Regions from separate parts of the Homo sapiens genome. Here regions 1, 2 and 4 are each linked to region 3. The links are contacts of gene promoters, found by promoter capture Hi-C in human tissues and cell types (Jung and others, 2019). All regions are on one chromosome and are shown on one strand. Each heading gives the region's core, a stretch centred on a gene start or on the middle of the fragment in contact. The rest is flanking DNA. Distances are from core to core; before and after follow the strand shown. Region 1 has its middle 93 kb from the start of ALDH3B2. Region 2 overlaps LOC112268076 (translation initiation factor IF-2-like). Region 3 holds the start of NUDT8 (nudix hydrolase 8). Region 4 overlaps LOC112268076 (translation initiation factor IF-2-like).

Evidence for each region. The method cuts DNA at HindIII sites, captures the fragments that hold promoters and counts their contacts. A contact is called where the count stands out against the background at its distance.
Region 1: a contact is called between a fragment that was not itself captured here and the fragment with the promoter of NUDT8 in region 3, in 5 of the 25 tissues and cell types used here (IMR-90 fibroblasts, lymphoblastoid cells, mesendoderm cells and 2 more).
Region 2: a fragment that was not itself captured here is called in contact with the fragment with the promoter of NUDT8 in region 3 in 6 of the 25 tissues and cell types used here (dorsolateral prefrontal cortex, heart left ventricle, liver and 3 more).
Region 4: a fragment that was not itself captured here is called in contact with the fragment with the promoter of NUDT8 in region 3 in 2 of the 25 tissues and cell types used here (hippocampus and mesendoderm cells).

The regions. Positions count from the first base shown.
Region 1 is chr11:67,766,704-67,769,403 of GRCh38, forward strand. No RefSeq gene overlaps it. Among named protein-coding and RNA genes, the nearest start is that of ALDH3B2, 93 kb to the left of the region's middle. The HindIII fragment of the contact is 3,973 bases long and covers 1-2,700 here.
Region 2 is chr11:67,819,720-67,822,419 of GRCh38, forward strand. The region is part of intron 3 of LOC112268076 (translation initiation factor IF-2-like); the gene reads right to left. It also overlaps the pseudogene ENPP7P7. Among named protein-coding and RNA genes, the nearest start is that of LINC02754, 63 kb to the right of the region's middle. The HindIII fragment of the contact is 6,215 bases long and covers 1-2,700 here.
Region 3 is chr11:67,628,487-67,631,186 of GRCh38, forward strand. NUDT8 (nudix hydrolase 8) reads right to left here and starts at 1,451. Exons shown (of 4, transcript NM_001243750.2): 1 at 1,232-1,451; 2 at 433-565. The coding sequence starts at 1,425. RefSeq lists silencers at 1-286, 854-1,003, 1,294-2,083, 2,204-2,373. The HindIII fragment of the contact is 11,433 bases long and covers 1-2,700 here.
Region 4 is chr11:67,836,494-67,839,193 of GRCh38, forward strand. All of the region lies in intron 3 of LOC112268076 (translation initiation factor IF-2-like), which reads right to left. It also overlaps the pseudogene ENPP7P7. Among named protein-coding and RNA genes, the nearest start is that of LINC02754, 47 kb to the right of the region's middle. The HindIII fragment of the contact is 3,364 bases long and covers 1-2,700 here.

The DNA of each region.
Region 1 (2,700 bases), core at 18-2,517, 140 kb after region 3:
GGGAAATTGCTTGAACCCTGGAGGCGGAGGCTGCAGTGAGCCGAGATTGTGCCACTGCACTCCAGCCGGGGAAACAGAGCAAAACCCCATCTCAAAAAAGAAAAACAAAAACAAAAACAAACAAACAAACAAAAAAAACAAGCCTAGGCCCACATCCAGACAATGGAATGTTATTTAGCACTAAAATGAAATGAGCTATCAAACCACAAAAAGACATGGAGAAATCTTAAATGCATATTCCTAAGTGAAAGAAGCCCATCCGAAAAGGCTGCACACTGTATAGTTCCAACTATTTGACATTCTGGATAAAGCAAAACTATGGAGACAGTGAAAATATCCATGGTTTCCAGAGGTCAGGACAAAGGAGGAATGAATTGGTGAAACACAGAAGATTTTTAGGCAGTGAAACTACTCTGTGTGATACTACAATGGTGGATCCACGTCATTGTCCATATGTCCAAACCCACGCAATGTACAACACCAAGAGTGAGCCCTCATGTAAACTATGGACTGTAGGTGATAGTGATGTGTCAATGTAGGTTTATTGATTATGAAAAATATCCCACTCAGGTTTGATATTGCTAGTGGGGGAAGCTGCACGTGTGTATGTGTGGCAGGTGGGAGTAGAGGTTGATGAAAACTGCACTTTCTGTTCCATTTTTCTTTCTTTCTTTTCTTATCTCTTTCTTTCCTTTTCCTTCCCTTCCTTCCTTCCCTCCCTCCTTTCTATCTCTCTCTCTGTTTCTTTCTCCTTTCTTTTCTTCTTTCTTTGTCACCCAGGCTGGAATACAGAGGTAAGATCTCAGCCCACTGCAACCTCCACCTCCCAGGTTCAAGCAGTTCTCCTGCCTCAGCCTCCCAAGTAGCTAGGATTACAGGCATGCACCACCAGGCCCAGCTAATTTTTTGTATTTTTAGTAGAGACAGGGTTTCATCATGTTGGTCAGTCTGGTCTCAAACTCCTGACCTCGTGATCTGCCCACCTCAGCCTCTCAGAGTGCTGGGATTACAGGTGTGAGCCATGGCACCTGGCCTCTGCTCCATTTTTCTATGAACCTAGAACTTCTCTAACACATTAAGTCTATTTAAAAGGAAAAAAAAAATCCCTATCCCCAGGATAGCATTACCTTTGGGAGGAGAGGAGCTAGCGTTAGGGAGGGGAGAATGAGGCGCTCAGGCAAGCTGGCCATGCCCTGTTCCTTGATCTGCATGGCGTGCATGTGCTTTACTTTGTGAAAGCTCACCCAGTTATCCACTTTGGATATGTGAACAAAAATTTTTAAGAAAACTTCACCTGCAGTTATCTGACCTACACTTTTAAACAATAAAGAAATCCTAGGCACGTGGAGCCCTGGGTAACTCATGGAGCAAGGGGGTGCGGAACGCTTTCCATAGCCAGCCTCAGTCCCACCAGGATGGGCTGCTAGGTGACAGCAGGACAGGCTCATGAGGACCAGCCATCACCCAAATGCTCTGGTCCTCCTGGCTACCTGCCGATGGCTCAAGCTGTTTGGTCTACAGTGCCAAAAGCTCAGGAAGAAGGACAGCTAGGACAACCCCATAGTTTCAGCAACACGGAGGCCATCAAGATCCATTTTGAAACCATATGGAATGGGTGGTGGGGACAGAAGCTTGTTTGGAAAAGGTTGAAAAATGAGTGGAGGGGCCTGGTGCGGTGGCTCATGCTTGTAATCCCAGCACTTCGAGAGGCTGAGGCAGGTGGATCACCTGAGATTGAGAGTTCAAGACCAGGCTGACTAACATGGAAAAACCCCATCTCTGCTAAAAATACAAAATTAGCCAGGCATGGTGGCAGGTGCTTGTAATCCCAGTTACGTGGGAGGCTGAGGCAGGTGAATCACTTGAATCTGGGAGGCAGAGGTTGCAGTGAGCTGAGATTGCGCCATTACACGCCTGCCTGGGCAGCAAGAGCAAAACTCCATCTCAAAAAAAAAAAAAAAAAAAATGAAAAGTGGGTGGAAGTTAAGAAAGTCAAAGATGGTCCATGTGGTAGGCAGAATAACGGCCCCCAAAGATGTCCACAGACCTTAATCCCCAGGACCACTGATTATGTTACCAGAGATTGATGGTAAAAGGGACTTGGCAGATGTGATTAAGTTCAGGATTTTGAGTGGGGGAGATTATCCTGGATTATCTGGAAGGGGTTTATATAATCACAAGAGTCCTTAAAAGGAGGAAGGTGGCTGAGTGCAGTGGCTCACACCTGTAATCCCAGCACTTTGGGAGACCGAGGTGGGTGTATCACCTGAGATCAGGAGTTTAAGACCAGCCTGGCCAACATGGTGAAACTCTGTCTCTACTAAAAATACAAAAAATTAGCCGGGCATGGTGGCGGATGCCTGTAATCCCAGCTACTCAGTAGGCTGATGCAGGAGAATAGCTTGAACCTGGGAGGCGGAGGTTGCAGTGAGCCGAGATCACATCATTGCACTCCAGCCTGGGCAACAAGAGCAAGACTCCATCTCAGAAAAAGAAAGAAAGAAAGAAAGAAACATAATAAAATGGAAATGGTTTATACTGGATCATGCTACCTGGGGAATGCAGAGAGGGGATATTCCCAAGCAGGGAGTGTCTTTTCTCCTACGATTGACTCTGGAACGGTGAGGAGCTGCTGGATTCTATCAACAGTTCGAGAGTGCCCTATATAACCAGCTCTCAACTCACTCACCCCCAGCTGTT
Region 2 (2,700 bases), core at 165-2,664, 190 kb after region 3:
GCTGGTCTCAAACTCCTGACCTCAGGTGATATACCTGCCTCAGCCTCCCAAAGTGCTGGGATTATAGGCGTGAGCCACTGTGCCTGGCTGTGCACTCATGTTTGATTTTTGCAGAACCACCCTTCCCTAATGGTTGTCTCCTAGATCCAAGGTGACTTTATTCATTTTAGAATGAACTTATCCCATTGATACTGTAACTAGAGTTGGCATACATCACGATTGGCAGAACCCGGTCATGTTTAGCGAGATGGAAGTGTTCTGGAAACTCCTCCTTCTTGTAGATGTGGAGGTGAGGGTGCGCATTCTTCAGTGCCTGGTAAAGGGCTTCTTCTTGCCCCAGTTTGGGTAGGGGCAGCCCAAAGCCACCATAGCCCACAATATCAAACTTGACCCAGTCCCTGAACTTGATGTAGTTGGACAAGGGATCTTGTTGACATTGGGTCTCTTCTTCACGGTCATCATCCCATGGTCTCATGTGATGATGACCTGAGGTGCTCTGCAGGCTGTGCTTCTCAGTGGCTCCCACCAGATACCAGATGGTCCTGTCGAGTTGCTGAATCATCAACTTCCTATTCTCTGCCTCTGGCTTGAATCGATGTCCTACGTTATCTGGCTGTCTGTAGTACAGAGTCACAAAGTCAAAGTCTTCCTTGGTGAAGCAGTTCATGACGGTATCGATGTTCTCCCTCTGCTCTGTCTCGTTGTTATTTTGGTGAGTGTAGGACTCCACCAGGGACCGCTTGACAGCCTCACCCTCGTATTTAGCACCTCCCCTGGAATAGTGGGATGATGCTGCTTTCTTCCCCTTCACGTACAATAAGAAAATTCCATCAGGGCCATTTCTCATACCTTTCTCACAATCAGCAAAGCTCGAGTTGTCTACATCTGTGCCCCAGTCCAAAGACATAGAAAATATGTGGTCTTTGGAGTCAGACAGGGTGGAGTTAGATTCTGGGATTCCCCAGGATCTCATAGCATCTACAACACTGTTAGTTACAAGATGTACTATTATTTTATGGGCTACTAAGCAGAAAAATGCCGCCAACGAGACTGTGACATTCCAGTGATTGTAAGGTGTATTACAACTTCAGAGATGGCAAAATGAAAAATAATTCCTTAGAATAGAGGGAGACGGTAATTTCTGAGTTGTTGGTGGTGAATCTGTGCATGTGTGTTTTTTATATATATACACATATATATACATACATATACATGTATATATATGTGTATATATAGACATACCTATATACATATACATATATATATGTGTATATATAGTGGTGCAGTGGTACAATCATAGCTCATTGCACCCTTGAACTCCTGGGCTTAAGCGATCCTCCTACCTCAGCCTCTTGAGTAGCTGGGGCCACAGGCATGTACCACCATACCTATATATATATATTTTTTTGAGACACGGTGTCACTCTCTCACCTAGGCTGGAGTGCAGTGGCACGATCTCAGCTCACTGCAACTTCTGACTCCTGGGTTCAAGCAATTCTTTTGCCTCAGCCTCCCAAGTAGCTGGGATTATAGACACGTGCCACTATGCTCAGCTAAGTTTTGCATTTTTAATTGAGATAGAGTTTTGTCGTGATGGCCAGGCTGGTTTCGAACCCCTGGGCTGAAGTGATCCACCTGCCTTGACCTCCCAAAGTGCTGGGATTACATGTGTGAGCCACCGCGCCTAGCCCTAATTTTTTTTTTTTTTTTTTTTTTTTTAGTCTTTGTAGAGATGAGGTCTCGCTAATTTGCCCAGGCTTGTCCTGAACTCCTGGGTTTAAGTGATTCTCCTGCCTCAGCCTCTCAAACTGCTGGGATTACACGCAAGAGACACTGCACCCGGCTGGTTGTGAGTTTTTAAATTTTCCAGTGTCTCAGTGTTTCTACCTGTAGAATGCCAAAAAGTAGATGGCATCTTTGCGAGGATTAAGTCGACTAGCTTTTTTTTTTTTTTTTTTTGAGAGAGAATTTCTTTCTTGTCACCCAGGCTGGAGTGCAATGGCGTGATCTTGGCTCACTGCAACCTCTGCCTCCTGGATTCAAGTGATTCTCCTGCCTCAGCCTCCCAAGTAGCTGGGATTACAAAGCCAGCTAGCTTTAAGATACAGTGTGGGGCATCACATTTTGGCACGGAGCAGGCACTCTTTCCTTTGCCCCCAGGTGGGACTAAGCCACCACAAGCCTTCCCTGGTGTGTGCAGTGGGTGATGAATGCTTGCCTGCTCAGCACCCACTACATGCTGGGCTGGGTCACATTACTCTGACTCCCCCTTGAGCTTCAGTCCGTGCCTGGTTCAAGATGTATTCACTCAACTCGAGGATCCAGAGGTGGGATGTGGCTCTGGCCTGGCCAGAGGACAGAGGATGCTGCATGCCATGGCTACAGCAACTGGTTCAGCTTTGGGCTCATGTCCTAGTCAGAGCCAATGAGATGTAATCTTCGGATATCTGCTGGGCTGTTGGGAAGGGGACAGGCTGCCCTGCTCATCCCCATTCCTGATGCTGAGGGATCTGAGAAAATCACTTGTAAAATTCGGGGGTGTTTGGAAGAAGGGGAGACCGATGTCTCCTTCTCTCTACAGACATCTGATCAGCTACAGAGCTTGACTGACCTACCCAGAGGCATAATGATATGGTGGTTAAAAGTGTGCTCTGGGCCGAGATCTTGCCACCGAACTCCAGCCTGGGTGACAGAGTGAGA
Region 3 (2,700 bases), core at 201-2,700:
GCCATGCATAGGCCTTTGGTAGTCATGTTCGGGTCCACCTGCCTGTGTCCTCCAGCCATGCTGACTGACTCAGGTCCCCTCAAATGCACTAGACCTGTTCCCTCTGCTTAGGACAATCTCCCACTTGGCATTCAAGCCTGGGTTCAATCCCTGCCTACCCCATGAAGCTTCCCTGACCCTAATCCACCAAACTGAGTGGAGCTGGCCCACCCCATCGCCCTGGGCCACCTCTACTCAGGACACCAGAGCCTCCCCAATCCCTTCCCGAGGGGGTGTGTGGGGTGGTGCATGTGACCAGGCAGGTTAGGGGCACCCTTCCACACTTTGTGCCCGTGGGGGTCCATGACCACTCTCCTGGTCCCTGGTAGCCCAGCTCCAGGGCAGGCACAGAGTGAGTGAATGGGGTGGGGTGGCCTCAGCCAAGTGGCTTACCGGATCATACACAGGCCGCAGCAGGCCCCACACGTGCTCCTCGGGCACTGCCAGGCCCAGCTCCTCCCGGGTTTCCCGCAGGGCCGTGTGCACCACATCTTGGTCAGCCGGGTCGCACTTGCCGCCTGGGAAACTAAACAGACACAAGGAGTCTGGTCCTTGGACTCTTGGGGCCACGGAGAGGTCGGGGTATCGGCAGTGCGGGGGGGGCCACTGGCCCACCGAAGTGTCGCCTGCCTCTGCCCCTAGTTTACTGGGAGGCCCCAGGCAAGCCATGCGACCTCTGGAGGCCAGTTTACCTCCCTGAGCAATGGGGATAAGGAAGAGAGGCCCGGGACAGCGCAGGATAAGAGGGTCTGCAGCAGGGGCAAGAAGATCCTGGGGCTCAGATACCCAAATTCGGCCTATGGTGGCCCCAGCAACACTGACATTGTCCTCAGGATGTTCTTAATTCCCGCCGGGCGGGGCCCGAACCTCTCCGTAGTCGCCGGCAGGGGGCGGCGTCCGCCCTCTAAGCGGGAAACAGCTCAAAGGGGTGTCCCGGCCCAGGCGTGCGCGCAAGGACGCGTACGAGGGGCCCACGCGGCGAGGACGTGGCGCCCCGGCAGGTGCACCGGGGCCGACGGACACGGATCGCTGACCTCTCGCTGCAGCCCTTGGGCGGAGGGACTCTCCCCAGACCCATTTTACGGAGGCGGAAACCGAGGCTCGAAGGGGCTAAGTGCCCTGCCAGAGGTCCCTGCCAGCCCCGGGCTCCTGTAGCCTCCGGCAAAGGGCGAGGAGTTCCCGGCCGCTGTACCTGACGTCGCCCTTGTGCCTCCCGGTCAGGCGGCTGGACCGCAGCGTGTACAGCAGCGCCGGGACCCCACGCACTGAGCAGAGCGGCACGAGCACCGCGGCCGACGCGGGCCGCGCGCGGAGCCGGGCCGTGGCCCCTGCCAGCAGCCGGCGGCAGCGCAGCTCGCCCTCGGCCGACAGGCAGTCGGGCAGCATGTCAAGTCCTGCGCGGCCGGGACACTGAGGGCGCGGGATCGGGCGAGGGAAGAGGCGGGGCGAGGCGGGGCGGGGCGCTCAGCCCGGGTCCCTCCGAAAGCTGAGAGGGAGAAGGGGCAGCCCGCGCGACGCGTCCCGCCTGGGGGGCTGCAGAGCGGCAGCGGCGTCGGGGGGCCTCAGTGGGGTGGGTCTGTTCGTGGGCGGGGCCTTCCCGGAGACGGGGCCTCGGTGGGACTGGGTCTGTTCGGGGGCGGGGCCTGTTTGAAGGCGGGTCCTCGGTGGGACGGGGTCCGTTAGGGGGCGGGGCCTGTTTGAAGGCGGGGCCTCGGTGGGACGCGTTGAGTCCCCCGGATGGGAGGGACGGAGGGCGGCGGGGCGGGGCGGGGCGGGGCCTGCGCGGGAGCCGGACTCGGACGTTACTGCCAAAGGGCGGCGGGGCCTAGTAGGCAATCGAGGTTGGGGCGGGCTGGGGGCGGGGCCTGGACCGGAGCTTTTGCTACGAAGGACTGGGGGGCGTGGCCAGGAGGACTGTGCTTCCGGCAGGGCCGGGCCGTGGCCGGGGGTGTGGCCGCGGGGAGGGAGATGGGCGCGGAGCTGCAGGACCTGCCGGTTGTGTTCTCCGAGATCCTGAAACCACGCGAACCGTGAAGCGCCCGGCGACCGTCCTCGGTCCCGTTGGGTCCTGGCGTTGGGGTGTCTGATGAGGCCCCGCCGGCCCCCACTGGTCCGTCCCTCCCCTAGGGGCTCCAGGATGTACGGAGCCGGGATCCCACGGGGACGCCCCTCCAGGAACCCGAGGTCGATCGGTGCGCGAGAGGAGCGTCCGGCCCAGCCCTCCCTCCGGTCCTCCCTCCCGATACCGCTGGGTGGCGCGCGCCGCCCCCAGTCTTGTCTTCCCCTCTGGCTCCGTCGGACTCCAGCCCCAGGCCTTTGACCTCCTTGTCCCAGCGTCCAGAGCTCTTCTCCCTTCCTGCCTTGAGTCTTGACCGGATTCCCAAATCCCTCCCCCTTTCCTACCTCGGCCCCTGTGGTCACTGACCACCGTGGTTCTGCGCCCTTCCACCAGACCCTGGGCTTGGGGACCAGATGACCCCAGCCTTGCGCACAGCATTTAAACGTGGGGTGGCGGGTGTCCGCCATGCTCTGCTGTGTGACGTTGAGCAGGTCCCGCGCCTCTCTGAGCGCCAGTTTCGATCCTCATCTGGGCAAGTGCAGCCCTGCCACTGGGCTGGAGTCACCACTTTTAATATTACTGTGTGCTCCCAGGGATGCGGA
Region 4 (2,700 bases), core at 99-2,598, 210 kb after region 3:
GGCTGTCGTGAGCTATGATTGTGCCACTGTACTCCAGCCTGGGTAACAGAGCGAGGACCTGTCTCAAAAACAAAACAAAAAACGGATGCCATTTCCCATTCCAGAGGTTGAGGTTTAATTGTTCTTGGGTGTGGCCTGGGTTTTGGAAGATTTAAAAAAATCCCAGGTGACCCTAAAGTGTAGATGAGTTTGGAAACCACACATCGAAGGCACACTTGAATGGGGGAGCAGTGAGGTGGCATGGGCTAGCCGGCCAGAACCCAGGGGTGGGGCAGTAGGAACCAGCATTGCAGAGGCCATGAAGGCTGGGAAGCATAGTGTGTGGGGCCCATAAAAATGCTTCGGCATGAATGCTTTAGACCTAAGACAATTGGCTCCCAAATGTGTAAACTGCAAGGCTGAACTGAATGCATGTTTAATGCTTTACAACATTGTCAAGTGATCAGCTGCAACTCCATTCTGAGGGCATGATGCCTGAGATATGCCTGTAATGGGGATTGATTTTAATGAATTTAATATGGTGTGGAGTGGGGCCTTCAAAATAAAGATGTCAGTTCTAAGTTGGTTGCAGAGGTATGGGCAAAGGTCTTAAAACCCCATGGTGAGCAGATGGCCAATCCTGAACACCCCAATCTTAAAACAGGGCTTTTTTTCCAAGAGAATTTTTGAAAATATCTCCTATTTCGAGGGGAGGAACGCTGGCAGGAGAGAGCCAGAGTTAAGCCCACCTGAGAGGGGGTTGGCAGGCAGGGGTCTGCCTGGTCCTTACTGAAGCTTGATACTCAGGGTGAGCTTCCTAAACCAATGCAGATTTGCTGGCCCACTGAGCCTCCCAGATGAGAACCTGCATTTCAACAAGGTCCTTGGTGCAGCAAAGTTTGACATATACTGGGCTAGAACACCCAGGGGACACAAAGGTTCTCTGAAACGTAAGGAAAATAGGCAGGGTGTGGTGGCTCATGCCTGTAATCCTTGTATTTTGGGATGCCAAGGCGGGCGGATCACCTGAGGTCAGGAGTTTGAGACCAGCCTAGATCAACATGGTGAAACACCATCTGTACAAAAAATACAAAAAGTACCTGGGTGCGGCCGGGCACAGTGGCTCATGCCTGTAATGCCAGCACTTTGGGCACCCGAGGTGGGTGGATCACGAGGTCAAGAGTTCGAGACCAGCCTGGCCAACCCTGTCTCTACTAAAAATACAAAAATTAACTTGTGTAGCTGTGCGTGCCTTTAATCCCAGCTACTCAGGAGGCTGAGGCAGGGGATTTGCTTGAACCTGGGAGGTGGAGGTTGCAGTGAGCCAAGATTATGCCATTGCACTCCAGCTTGGGCAGCAGAGTGAGACTCTGTCTCAAAAAACAAAAACTTGCAGAGTGAATTTAGGAAACCATGAAGTCCACAGTTTGATCCAATGCCTTCCTTTTTCTCTTTCTCAAATATTTTGAGCCAGGTACTATCCTAGATTGTCTTGTGATATTTACAATCTAGGAGAAGGCAGGAGAGAGAACTAAGAACAGAGAGCGTGTTCTGAGATGTCTGCTGTGTTTGCAGGTACCTTCCCTCAATTTCCCTACTCACTGGCCATGCTGGAAAACAGGTCTTGGTGCCATATTTGTACCGTGGTACTCCCCTCCCTATACTCAATTGGTTGGCCAGAAGCCCAATTGTCATTCTCTCTCTCTCCCTCTCCCTCTCTTCCCTCCCTCCCTCCCTCCCTCTCCAAGATATCCAGTAACTGACTGATCAGCTGGTGGTGGGCTCTGCTGGCTGCCATGATGGGCCACCAGCAAAAAGGGAAAATTGGTTGTGAGTGAGAGAAGCAGAGATAAGAAAGTCCACAGGGCTGGTAAGAAAGACCATGGGCTTCCGGGTGCGGTGGTTCACGCCTGTAATCCCAGCACTTTGAGAGGCTAGGATGGTCGGATCACGAGGTCAGGAGATCGAGACCATCCTGGCTCACACAGTGAAACCCCATCTCTACTAAAAATACAAAAATTAGCTGGGTGTGGTGGTGGGTGTCTGTAGCCTCAGCTAATTGGGAGGCTGAGGCAGGAGAATGGCGTGAACCCCAACAGGTGGAGCTTACAGTGAGCTGAGATTGCACCACTGCACTCCAGCCTGGGCGACAGAGTGAGACTGCATCTCACAAAAAAAAAAAAAAAAGAGACCATGGGCTTCTGAGAGCAAGAAAGAGGAATTTTGGTTTCTGTAACTGCAGTTTCCATTCTCTCATGGCCTCTCATTTGTTTCTTGTGCCCATGAGTTTGCCTGTTAGAGACAAGGTGTTCTCCTTGTCCTCAAGCTCATGCAAATGGGCTTCTGTTGCTTACAATCTTTGTTCCCAGATATGGATGGTTACTGATGCTCTACTAAATGCTGAAAAAAAGTAGAGTGGAAGCACAGAAAAGCAAGCTTCTCTGAGGGGGTGACGTTAGAGCCCAGTTGGGAGGCAGGAGTAAATGTGCACCATGATTTTTTAGGATTAAAACCAAGTATCTCACTGCTTGGGCACATGTAGATAGAGGTGATTTAACAGTAAACTGTCCCAGTTGTACCCATTGTTAGTTATCTCACCACAGGGATTATGTAGCCCTGAGTTTGCTTAGTGCTTATTTATTTTAGGTTGTTGTTTATCCAAACCTCCTAAATGATACGTGTTTGGAACAAGTAACAGCATTGTTCCTTGATGTTGTGGAC